3 separate regions of the Homo sapiens genome follow, and all the other regions are linked to region 3. The links are contacts of gene promoters, found by promoter capture Hi-C in blood cells and fetal thymus (Javierre and others, 2016). All regions are on one chromosome and are shown on one strand. Each heading gives the region's core, a stretch centred on a gene start or on the middle of the fragment in contact. The rest is flanking DNA. Distances are from core to core; before and after follow the strand shown.

Evidence for each region. Contacts are between HindIII fragments. The CHiCAGO score rates a contact against its expected background, and 5 or more counts as called.
Region 1: a fragment that was not itself captured here is called in contact with the fragment with the promoter of PRODH2 in region 3 in 3 of 17 cell types (M1 macrophages, M2 macrophages and M0 macrophages); the score reaches 6.4 in M1 macrophages.
Region 2: a contact is called between a fragment that was not itself captured here and the fragment with the promoter of PRODH2 in region 3, in 2 of 17 cell types (M2 macrophages and M1 macrophages). The highest score is 5.9, in M2 macrophages.

The regions. Positions count from the first base shown.
Region 1 is chr19:35,605,096-35,608,949 of GRCh38, forward strand. It overlaps HAUS5-DT (HAUS5 divergent transcript), which reads right to left. Exons shown (of 2, transcript NR_186318.1): 2 at 3,294-3,708. Among named protein-coding and RNA genes, the nearest start is that of HAUS5-DT, 5.6 kb to the right of the region's middle. The HindIII fragment of the contact is 3,634 bases long and covers 29-3,662 here.
Region 2 is chr19:35,585,960-35,590,262 of GRCh38, forward strand. PMIS2 (PMIS2 transmembrane protein) reads left to right here and starts at 214. Exons shown (of 2, transcript NM_001395412.1): 1 at 214-582; 2 at 1,017-1,337. The coding sequence starts at 301. The coding sequence ends at 1,187. The HindIII fragment of the contact is 2,233 bases long and covers 186-2,418 here.
Region 3 is chr19:35,811,292-35,815,678 of GRCh38, forward strand. PRODH2 (proline dehydrogenase 2) reads right to left here and starts at 1,554. Exons shown (of 10, transcript NM_021232.2): 1 at 1,341-1,554; 2 at 1,069-1,265; 3 at 843-981; 4 at 671-757. The coding sequence starts at 1,514. The HindIII fragment of the contact is 7,636 bases long and covers 1-4,387 here.

The DNA of each region.
Region 1 (3,854 bases), core at 596-3,095, 210 kb before region 3:
CTACCTCCTCCCTTGCTGACTGCCATGAAGCTTTCTTCCCTAAGGGTTAAACAGAAACCAGCCCTATTGAAAGACTCATTCACTGCTAATTTCAACCAATGGCCTGAAATACATGGCTGCTCCTCCCTTTTGTGGTTTCAACATAACAACTGACCAGCATTCCTTCCTGATCAGAGGCCACCTAACCACGGGGTGTGGCTCTGGCCAGTCTACAGAGGCTGCACACAAAGGGCCTTTGTGTCCTCTGCATCACCTTTTGATGTATAGGGCCTAATTGTAATACATTTAAGTGTTAAGTCTCCACTCCAAAGTGAACATGGGGCCTGGCACGGTGGCTCACGCCTGTAATCCCAGCACTTTGGGAGGCCAAGGTGGGCGGATCACCTGAGGTCAGGAGTTTGAGACCAGCCTGGCCAACATGGTGAAACCCTGTCTCTACTAAAAATAAAAAAATTAGCCAGGCATGGTGATGGGTGCCTGTAATCCCAGCTACTCATGAGGCTGAGGCAGGAGAATTGCTTGAACCCTGGGAAAGAGAGGTTGCAGTGAGCTGAGATCGCACCACTACACTACAGCCTGGGTGACAGAGTAAGACTCCATCTCAAAAAAAAAAAAAAAAAAAAAAAAAAGTGAATATGGGATGTTACTACACATGTGCTGTACCTTCCCTTCATGAATATTCATAGCTCCTCCTATAACCTGTTGAATATGTATACTGAGCCAAGCCATTCAGCGTTAACTCTGACCTTATCCTTCCCTTACTGGAGGTGCCTGCTCTCAGCTTCTACCGGAGGCTACACTTCTCGGCCTGTGAGATGGCCCGGCTGCAGGCTGCAACTCTTTATGAGAAATAAAGCTCTCCTTTCCAAATTTGTAAACCTGTATTAGTCTGTTCTCACGCTGCTGAAAAGAACTGCCCAAGACTGGGTAATTTATAAAGGAAAGAGGTTTAATTGACTCACAGTTCCGCAGGGTTGGGGAGGCCTCAGGGAACTTAAAATCATGGTGGAAAAGAAAGCAAAAACGTCCTTCCTCAGATGGCAGCAGGAAGGAGAAGTGCCAAGCAAAGAGGGAAAAGCCCCTTATAAAACCATCAGATCTCGTGAGAACTCACTATCTCAAGAACAGCAGCATGGGGGTAACCACCCCCATGATTCGATTACCTCCCACTAGGTCCCTCCCACAACACATGGGGATTTGGGGAACTACAATTCAAGATGAGATTTGGGTGGGGACAGCCAAACCATATCAAAACCTCATGATTCTTCAGTTGACATCTAATCTGAGCTACCATGGTCTATCAAAAAACCACAGCTCTTGAGGGGATCTCAATGGCTGTTAACAAACTGGTTAGAGTTCTGGTCAGGTTCTGATTGTAGAGAGCCTCTGTAACAGATATGGATTGCCTCCTTCCCCCCACCCTCCTTGTTATTTTTATTTCATTTTATTAAATTTTTTTTTGAGACAGGGTCACACTATGTCACCCAGACTGGAATGCAGTGGCACAATCTCAGCTCACTGCAACTTCTGGCTCCCAGGTTCAAGTGATTCTCATGCCTCAGCCTCCTGAGTAGCTAGGACTACAGGTGCATGCCACCATGCCCAGCAAATTTTTATATTTTTTGTAGAGACAGGGTTTTGCCATGCTGCCCAGACTGGTCTCAAACTCCTGAGCTCAACCAATCTGTCTGCCTTGGCCTCCCAAAGTGCTGGGATTATAGGCGTGAGCCACTGTTCCCAGCCATGATTTTTATTTAACAAATACTCATTATTTAACAAATACTTTCTGAGCACCTACTGTGTCCCAGGCATTGTCTTGGGAACGAGGAACACAACGGAGCAAGAGAAGTAAGGCCAACTTCTTCTCTGATGGAGCTTACATTCTAGTGGGAAAGAAAACTATAAACAAGTATACCCAAAAATAAACAAGATAATTACAGGGAATGGTAAATGCTATAGAGAAAAATAAAACAGAATAAGAAGCTAAAGTGGTGCCAGGACTGGTCCAGCAACTATTATGGTGTTGGGAGCAAGCCCCCCAAAATATGGCCATAAACTGACCCCAAGACTGGCCACAAACAAAATCTCCACAGCACTGTGACATGTTCATAATGGCCCTAACGCCCAAGCTGGAAGGTTGTGGGTTTACGGGAATGAGGGCAAGGAACACCTGGCCCGCCCAGAGTGGAAAACCACTTAAAGGCATTCTTAAGCCACAAACAATAGCATGAGCGATGTGTGTCTTAAGGACGTGTTCCTGCTGCAGTTAACTAGCCCAACCTATTCCTTTAATTCGGCCCATCCCTTCGTTTCCCATAAGGGATACTTTTAATTTAATATCTATAGAAACAATGCTAATGACTGGTTTGCTGTTACTAAATATGTGGGTAAATCTCTGTTCGGGGCTCTCAGCTCTGAAGGCTGTGAGACCCCTGATTTCCCACTTCACACCTCTATATTTCTGTGTGTGTGTGTTTAATTCCTCTAGCACCAGTGGGTTAGGGTCTCCCCAACCGAGCTGGTGTCTGCAATGGTGTGCCACCAGATAAGTACGGAAATTGCCAGCAAGTGTTTAGAAACACAGCAATTTGACATATCCATGACATCCAAGTATAGGATCAATGGATTTTCTTGTTGAACAGGGTAGAGACCAAAAGGATTGGTCCATGACAGGTTGGAAACATCAAACAAATGATCCTTCTCCATAGTTACAAGTAGTTTGAGATACACTGAGCTAGTGGGCAATGATGTCTACAAGGTATATTATTTAGAGTCATGCTAGCTGCTATAACAAATAAACCCCACCATTTCAGTAGCTCACAAAATAAAAGTTCTTTTTTTTTTTTTTTTTGAGACGGAGTTTCACTTTTGTTGCCCAGGCTGGAGTGCAATGGCACGATCTCAGCTCACAACAACCTCTGCCCCCTGGGTTCAAGCGATTCTCCTGCCCCAGCCTCCCAAGTAGCTGAGATTACAGGCATGCACCACCACACCCGGCTGATTTTTTTGTATTTTTAGTAGAGACGGGGTTTCTCCATGTTGGTCAGGCTAGTCTCAAACTCCTAACCTCAGGTGATCCACCTGCCTCAGCCTCCCAAAGTGCTGGGATTACAGGCATGAGCCATCACGCCCAGCCAGAAGCTCATTTCTTACTGTTCCTTTGAGCACATTCCAGCATCAGGGTCTTTCCACTTGCTGTTCCCACTTTGGGAACTCCATTTTCACAGTTTTCAAGTAGCTCTCACACTTTGGCTCTCACGTCTCAGCTCAAAGAACATCTTAGAAAGGCCTTCTGTGGCAGAGCCAGCAGGATGTTTATTGACTGCCTAGACCAGGACTACATTTCCCAGAGGCCCTTGCAGCTAGTTGAAGCCATAAGACAAGTTATGTTCAATGGACTGAGAGCAGAAGTGATGTATGTCACTTTAGGGTGAAGACTTTCAAGAAGCAGGTGCGAGTTCCTTATTCTCTCTTCTGCCTGGATTCAAAAGACTCTGAGCCCATAGAAGATGGTTGAATCACCTTATGGAAGAAGCCTGGATCCCTGAATTACTATGTGGATCAGGAGAAATGTCTGATGGGATGTTCTATGAGTAAGAAATGAGAAGACTCTTCTCAAACGTGGAAGGAGCTGCTGAAACCAAAATCACAAGTCCTAGAGAAGCTTCTTATTATCTCTCAGATGGTGGATGGGTTCCAAAAAGCATCCTGAAATTATCCAGAAAAACAGAAAAGAGATTTCAGATAAAGCAAAGGGAGAGAGATGCTGACAGAAGAAGACCAAGAGGCCACAGGGGCTCTGCTCCTTCAGGATCTAAGAAAGCAGGAAGGCACCAGTACCTCCCACCAAGGCC
Region 2 (4,303 bases), core at 52-2,551, 230 kb before region 3:
ATCAGTGGGAGGAGGAGGAGCCGAGAGCCACCACTTAGGCTTCCAACCAATCCCTACCAGGGTGGGCGGAGCCCACTTCCTGATTGGCTGCACTCTCTGTGTCTTGGGGTGGGCGAGAACGGCGGGGCCACGCCCCCTAACTAGGCAGCCAATCAGGACGTGGGGTGCTGGTTTCTCCATTGCGAAGCTTCAGCCTTTGATGGTTTGGGTCCTGGGAGTCTGGTTAGTACAAGGGGAAGCCTAGTGGGTCTGGCGCTCCGTTTTCAAGACACTCGGAGTCCGTCTTTGAGGGGAAAGGTCATGGCCCTGAAACCACCTTCTGCCACCCAGCCTGCTCCCAACGCGCCAGCTACCCCAGACGCCCCCCCTACCACAGGTGATCCAGGTGCTTCAGCTGCCCCAGGTTCTCCCACTACCACAGGTGGTCCAGGTGCCCCAGCTGAGGTGCCCCAGGAGCCGCAAGAGCCTACACAGACACCAGAGGAACTAGCATTTTACGCCCCAAACTACCTATGTTTGACCATCTTTGCTATACTTTTATTCCCTCCATTTGGATTGGCAGCTTTGTACTTCTCTTATGAGGTAAAATAATGCCCAAGTCATAGCCCCCGTCCTTTTTTTTTTTTTTTTTTCTTTTTGAGACCCAGTCTCACTCTGTCCCCCAGGCTGGAGTGCAGTGGTGCAATCTCGGCTCACTGCAATCTCTGCCTTCCCGGTTCCAGCAATTCTCCTGCCTCAGCCTCCTGAGTAGCTGGGATTACAGACATGAGCCACAGTGCCCGGCTCATTTTTGTATTTTTAGTAGAGACGGGGTTTCACCATGCTGGCCAGGCTGGTCTCGAGCTTCTGACCTTGTGATCCACCCGCCTTGGCCTCCCAAAGTGCTGGCATTACAGGCGTGAGCCACTGCACCCAGCCTACCCTGTCCTCCATTTGGCCCCTGCATCTGCTCCTATCCTGGGACCTGCATAGGGGCTTTCCCTCAGTGACTGCAGGTCTCCAACCGTTCTCCCCAGGGTTCCTGGACACAGAAACCCACATCTATGCTTCCACCCCTACAGACTATGAAGGCCAACCAGAACAGTGAATGGGAAGAGGCTTACATCAACTCAGGCCGAACTGGTTGGTTCGGTGCATTCGTGGTAATGATTGGCTTAGGCATCATTTATGGCTTGGTCCTATATTAATGAAGTCTAGGCATAGCAACCCAGGGGTCCGCTCCCCAACCGAGCCACTCACCAAACACTAACCAGCCAAGTCAGCCATCAGGCAAGAAATTCAACCGCTGAGACATCTAGCCAAGAAATCCTCTAACCAAGGAACTCAACATTCAAGAAACCCACCAACCCAGGAACACACAGACCACCTGCCTGTGCTACTTCAACTCACTCAGCTCCAGAGCTGTCTTCGTTCACCCTAGGGGTCCACACTTCATGCCCTAGATCCCTTTAGCTCCTTGACACTGGGCTGTTCTTTCAGAGGAATTTTAAACCAAAAAACTGGAATGGAATGTTCTGGTTTCCTGTGGTGTGTGTGTATGTGTGTGTGTCAACATGCCCATGATTGTTTTCTGGGTCAGTGGTCAGTATCTGTGTTTCCCTGGAGCTGTTTCCTAGACTGTGAAAATCAGAATGTCCCAATGGGGAAGCCCACAGACATAGAATTCAGGCAGATGTCAGTTAAAAACTTACCTCTGACACTGAAAAACTGTATAGCCCTGAACAGATACTTTTCTTGAGCATAGTTCCTTTGTCTCTAAAGCAGGCATAATTGCCAATGTGGGGATGATATTTAGAAATCTGAACTGATGTTTATTCTCTAGGGGTCTTCTCATTTGAGCTGGGATTGGAGATGTCTAGTGTCTCAGAGCAGCAATAAGAAAACAGAAACCTCTTCCAGCTTCTGACATCCAAATGTCAAGCTCTTAGGAGAAGAATGGAAAGTCCTCAAGAAATGCAAATAGCTTTGGCAGAATAGCTGATGAAGACCACCTCTCCCCCCTCCAGAAAGGCATTGGTTCCCCATTCATGGAAAAGGGAATGTAGAGAGAGATTAGACAATAGTACATCCATAAGGTTCCTGGAATCTGCATCTGAGGAAGAGGGGCGTCAGAGACCCCAGCTGTTATCTATAATCCCTCCTCACAGATAAGGCCTAGAGAGGCTCCAAGTTCTCAAAGAAGATATGCTACATGGTGTAGACATTTACAAAGAAATGACCTCAGACAGCCAAGGAGGATACCCCATGGCCCAGCCTAGTGAGAAGAAGGTGGGTTCCATAGGAATCCCAAGTGCCAGGTGGAGACAGAACTGTAGAGGAAAACTAGGGATAAGCAGGGAGCCATCGTGCATGAATCAAAACAGAGATCTAGACTGACACCATGGGCCACAGACACCCCGGGGCTGCCTCTGATGCCCAAGCTTCATGGACAACCCCAAGTTCAGAACCAGATGAATATTTAGCACAATATTTAGCAGAACTAAGTTTCCACCACCATGGAGAATGGGGATTCTCAGTAGAAAGTCAATGGAGCTGCTGGGCAAGAGACTGCTCACTGTCCCCCAGAGCCCATCGCCTCTTTGTTCTGGGAACATTGCCTGGCCACGTCTCAGAGGTTCCCCTCTGCAGCCATGAAATGTGCTTTGGTCCTGTGGAATGTGAGCAGAACTGACATGTACCACAAACAAACCTGGCTTTTCAATGTCTCCTGGGACACTCCTCTAAACTCCTCCTCCCCCGGCCAACGGGGCAAGGGATACCCATGTGATGATTTAGAAGGCCACATGTTGTAGACGTGGCAAAGCCCCCATTAGCCTGGGTCCCTGAACCATTCTAGGAACAGCCTCCCTTCCCCCAACTGCCTCATGTGGTCAAGCAGAAAATAGACTACCATGTTGACAAATGACATGCTTGGCCTGTTTCCACAGCCCAATCCACCCAAACCAGTGCAGATGCAGGAGAATAGAGTTCTATTTCTTGCACATCTGGGATTACAGCTTCAAGTTCATACCCAACAGAGACATCCATCTTGTTGGGTGGTCTATAGGAAATAATAATAGAAGGAAACAACAAAGGCCCTAGTCCACCTTAATTGTAATTGTTGTGATGCTGAGTTTGTCTCCTCTGTGGGCTTGGGTGTCTGGGCAGATCTCATGTGTTTGTGGGACAATGCTCTGGGTTATGGGGATGCCTGCAGATAGGATGATGCCTAATTGTCTGTCATGTTAGCAGATCTAGAGGGTTAGCCATCCCTGTCCCTCTCCAGATCCAGCCCAGGCTGGGCCTGTCACATTCAGCTGCAAAGCCATGTCAGGTTAGGATGGTCCATGTCAACATCAGCAGGCAGACCCAAGTGTCACCTTCTGCTACAGGCCTTGGAAAGCCAGCCAGCCTCCTCCACTTCAGCTCCCAGACTTCATCCAACCTGAATTTCACTCTCGGGTATCCAACTGGTATTTAGCACCAGGTAAACACAAAACGAGGCCAGGCACAGTGGCTCGTGCCTGTAATTTCAATGCTTTGGGAGGCTGAGAGAGGAGGATGGCTTGAGCCCAGGACTTTGAGACCAGCCTAGGCAGCAAGTCGATAGATAACTCTTTTCTACAAAATTTTTCAAAATTAGCCAGGCGTGGTGGCACACGCCTGTAGTCTCAGTTACTCAGGAGGGTGAGGTGAGAGGATCACTTTAGCCCAGGATTTTGAGGCTGCAGTAAGTCATAGTGATACTACTGCACTTCAGCCTGGGGGACACAGCTAGACTTTGTCTCCAAAATAAATAAATGTAAAAAATAAGGCCGGGTGCAGTGGCTCACACCTGTAATCCTAGCACTTTGGGAGACTGAGGTGGGAGGATCACCTGAGGCCAGGAGTTCGAGACCAGCCTGGCCAACATAGTGAAACCCTGTCTCTATAAAAATACAAAAATTAGCCACTGTGGTGGTGCGTGCCTGTAATCCCAGCTACTCGGGAGGCTGAGGCAGGATAATCTCTTGAACCCGGGGGTGGAGGTTGCAGTGAGCAGAGATTGCACCACTTCACTCCAGCCTGGGCGAAGGAGTGAGACTCAACCTCAAAAAAAAAAAAATCTTATCTGACTTTGATTGCATTACAATCAATTTAGTTATCAGTTTTGGGAGATTTAGCATCTTTATGATAAGCCTTCCTATTCATAAATATGATATATCAAATAGGACTTGTACATCTTTAGCTTTATTTTATGTATTATAAGCAATCCTTTTTTCCATTACATAATCTAAATTATTATTGGGGTAGAAGAAAGGTATTGAGTTTCCAATGTTGATAT
Region 3 (4,387 bases), core at 304-2,803:
CCTATAATCCCAGAACTTTGGGGGGCTGAGGCTGGGGGATTGCTTGAGGCCATGAGTTAGAGACCACCCTGTGCAATACAGTAAGACAAAGAGAAAGAGAGAGAGAGAGAGAGAGGAGGGAGGAGAGAGAAGGAAGGAAGGAAGGAATAAAGGAAGGAAGGAAGGAAGGGAGGGAGGGAGGGAGGGGAGAGAAGGAAAAAGAAAAGAAGGAAGGAAGGAGAGAGAGCAAAAGAGGAAGAGGAAGGAAGGAGAGAGAGAGAAAGAAAGAAAAAAAGATGGAGTAGGGTTGAAAGAGAATGTGGAGATAAAAAGGAATTAATGATTGAATGAACAAACTAAGACCCCATTGGCCTAATCAGAACTTACACCCAGCCAGCTCACACCCATGCAGCTGTGTTGACTGAGAACACACTGATGTACCTCCTTCTAATTGATAAACAGCTTCTATCCCAATCCCTCCTCTGAGAGCCTCCAGCCTCCAGGCTCCTCCCTGAGAACCCAGATGACCCTGATTCCATCCATTTCAACCATGCCTGGGAGCTACAGCTGCACTTCTGCTGGCTGTTCCAAGCCTGGAGGTGGCCGTAGCATTTTGAACATCTGGCGTGCGGTGTGGCCGCATCTAAGTCCAAGGCACTCTGTCCCCGACAGTCCCGCTTGAGATCCTTACCTGCCCAGAGTCCATAGCTTCAGCCAGCCTCTCGGGGCTCAGCTCCAAGGAGGCTCCTGGCCTTCTGACCCACGAGGCTAGCTCCTTCTGAAATGGGGTGGTAGGCGGGGTGGTGAGGGGAGCCCGATGGGCAGCCGCGCCCTCCCCGCACCCCCGTCTTTGCACTCCTTACACAGAGCCGAGTACTGGTCAGCGCCGTCACCTTCAGCTGCATGAGGCTGGCCTCAGCCAGGCTGGGGGGCTCCAGGAGGCCCCGTGACAGGTCCACACACCGCAGCATAGCACCGAGGTTCCCCTCATACCACGCCTCACTGCCCAGCCAGCAGGTGTCAGGGCCCGAACAGCAAAGCCCCTTCCTGCGTCCTCCCAGCCTCCCTGGGCCCTGGCTCCCTACTCACCCACTCTTGGCAGCAGAGTCCGGCTCCTCCTCAGTGGGCACTGCCAGCAGTGGTCGGAGGCTGAGGGTCCGCAGCTGCTGCACGCAGCCCTTCACCTCCTCTGCTGTCTCACCAGCCACAAACTGCCCATAGACGGATGCTCGGAGAAATGCGCCTGAGAGCCGGGAGCCCAGGAGTCGCCGAGACCAGGCCTGGAGCTGGGTGACAGGGAGCGAGGGCTCAGCGCCAGGCTATGAGGAGCCTCCAGGCTGGTCCTCAGGATCACTGCTCACCAACAGCCCGTGAGTGACGAGTGGGGGCCAGGCACACAGCCGGAGAACCAGCAAGGCCCGTGTCAGCTCTCCTGTGCCCTTAAGGTGGAAGGCCCCGCCATCAAAGCTCAGGGACTGCCAGCCCCTGGAGGGGGGACCAGCTTGGGAACAGAGCACGTAACAGGTCCGGAGCATCCTGGGTCCCTGGCTGCCTCCACACCAGGGAAGGTTCTCTGGAGGCAGCAAGTTCACCAACTGCCCCTTGCCCAGACCAGGGGCAGTGACTGATTAACTGGGCAAAGCCTCAGGATCACAGGCTCCTTGGGGGCAATTAATTATTAACAAATGGGGACAGAGTTCAGAGTAACGGAAACGGGAGGTGAACCCCAGTAACAGCCCCCAAGAATGCTCAGCACAACAGCCTGCACTTATTAGGTAACCACCATGTGCTGGGGAAAGCAGGGGCTCCGGAGCAAGGATCCCTGGGCTCAGGACACCGGGCTTTGTGATCCAGGACAGGCTACTTAATCACTTTTGTGGCAATTGCTTCCTCTTAAAATTGGAAACGCTGTAGTGTTATTGAATACATTTGAAAATACGGTTCTCACGTTTGTAATCCCAACACTTTGGGAGGCCAAGACCGAGGAGTTTGAGACTACCCTGGGCGACATAGTGAGACCCCATCTCTACAAAAAATACAAAAATTAACTGTGTGTGGTGGCACACACCTGTGGTCCTAGCTACTCAGGAGGCCGAGGAAGGTGGATCTCTTGAGCCTGGGAGGTCAAGGGTGCAGTGAGCTGTGATTGTGCCACTGCACTCCACCCTGGGTGACAAAGTGAGACTCTGTCGCCAAAAAAAGAAAAAAGAAAAGACAAATAACCTATATAACCCAGCTGTTCCATGCTAAGTACATATCCTAGAGACCTTAAACATGGACAGCAGGAAACATGTACAGGAAAGAATGTTCAGAGGAGCAGTGTCTGAACTACCCAAATGTCCATCAAAAGGAGAATGGATACATATATGGTGGTGTAGTTATGCAATGGAATACTATACAGTAATGAAAAAGAATGGATACTGATACACACAACTGTGTGGCTGAATCTCACAATGTCAAGTGAAAGAAGCCAGACACCAAACAGGGCAAGCTGTATTATTCTTTTTTTTTTTTTTTTTTTTTTTTTTTTGAGACACAGTTTCACTCTTGTTGCCCAGGCTAGAGTGCAATGGCACAATCTCAGCTCACTGCAACCTTCACCCCCCGGGTTCAAGCGATTCTCTTGCCTCAGCTTCCAGAGTAGCTGGGATTACAGGCATGTGCCACCACGCCCCACTAATTTTGTATTTTTAGTAGAGACAGGGTTTCTCCATGTTGGTCAGACTGGTCTTGAACTCCCGACCTCAGGTGATCTGCCCGCCTCAGCCTTCCAAAGTGCTGGGATTACAGGCATGAGCCACTGTGGCTGGTCTATACTTTTCAATAAATATAAAAGCAAGGAAAGTGAAACTGCAGTAAAATGTTGGGAATACATGCGTGGGTGGTCAAACTATGAGGACAAGAAAAGTAAGGACATGATTATCACAGAAGTCAGAGAGGTGGTTGATTGTGGGGGATGGGAGGAATTGTAATGGGGTAGAGGGATATGGGGACTTCTATATCCTATTTTCTTTTTTTAAAATGGAAACCATATGTCTTAATTTTTTTGTTTTGTTTTGTTAGACGTATCCTTGCTCTGTCACCCAGGCTGGAGTGCAGTGGTGCGATCTCGGCTCACTGCAACCCCCATCTCCCGGGTTCAAGTGATTCTTCTGCTTTAGCCCCCTGAGTAGCTGGGACTACAGGCACCCACCACCACACCTGGCTAATTTTTGTATTTTTGTAGATATGGGGTTTCACCATGTTGGCCAGGCTGGTCTTGAGCTCCTGACCTCAAGTGATCCACCCTACTTGTCCTCCCAACATGCTGGGATTACAGGCGTGAAGTCCTAGGTCTTTTTTTTTTTTTTTTTTTTTTTTTGAGACAGAGTCTTACTCTGTTGCCCAGGCTGGAGTGCAGTGGCACGATCTCGGCTCACTACAGCCTCTGCCCCCGGGTTCAAGCAATTATCCTGCCTCAGCCTCCCGAGTAGCTAGGATTACAGGCGTCTGCCACCGCGCCTGGCTAACTTTTGTGTTTTTAGTAGAGTCACGGTTTCACCATCTTGGCCAGGCTGGTCTTGAACTCCTGACCTCATGATCCACCTGCCTTGGCCTCCCAAAGTGCTGGGATTACAGGTGTGAGCCACTGTGCCTGGCAGTGGCTTCTAGGTCCTAGGAGTCCTAGGTCTTAACATGGATGATGATTCATAGTTGTTCACATTGTAAGGTTTTTTTTGTTTTGTTTTTGAGACAGAGTCTTGCTCTGTCTTCCAGGCTGGAGTGCAGTGGGGTGATCACTGCTCACTGCAGCCTCAAACTTCTGGGCTCAAGCAATCCCCCCACCCACCACCTCCACCTCCCAAGTAGCTGGGATTACAGGTGCATGTGATCACACCGAGGGTAATTTTTAATTGTTTTTTTGGTAGAGACAGAGTCTTACTATGCTGCCTAGGCTGGTCTTGAACCCCTGGACTCAAGCAGTCCTCTCACCTTGGGCCTCCCAAAGTGTTGGGATTTCAGGCATGAGCCACGGCACCTGGCCCTCACATTGTAAGTTTTTTTTTTTTGAGACGGAGTCTTGCTCTGTCCCCCAGGCTGGAGTGCAGTGGCGCAATCTTGGCTCACTGCAAGCTCCGCCTCCTGAGTTCATGCCATTCTCCTGCCTCAGCCTCCCGAGTAGCTGGGACTACAGGCACCCACCACCACGCCCGGCTAATTTTTTGTATTTTTAGTAGAGACGGGGTTTTACCATGTTAGCCAGGATGGTCTCAATCTCCTGACCTCGTGATCCACCCGCCTCGGCTTCCCAAACTGCTGGGATTACAGGCGTGAGCCACACTGCGCCCGGCCTTGAAATTTTTATTTATTTTCTTATTTATGTATGTATGTATGTATGTATGTGTGTATTTATTTATTTATTCATTTT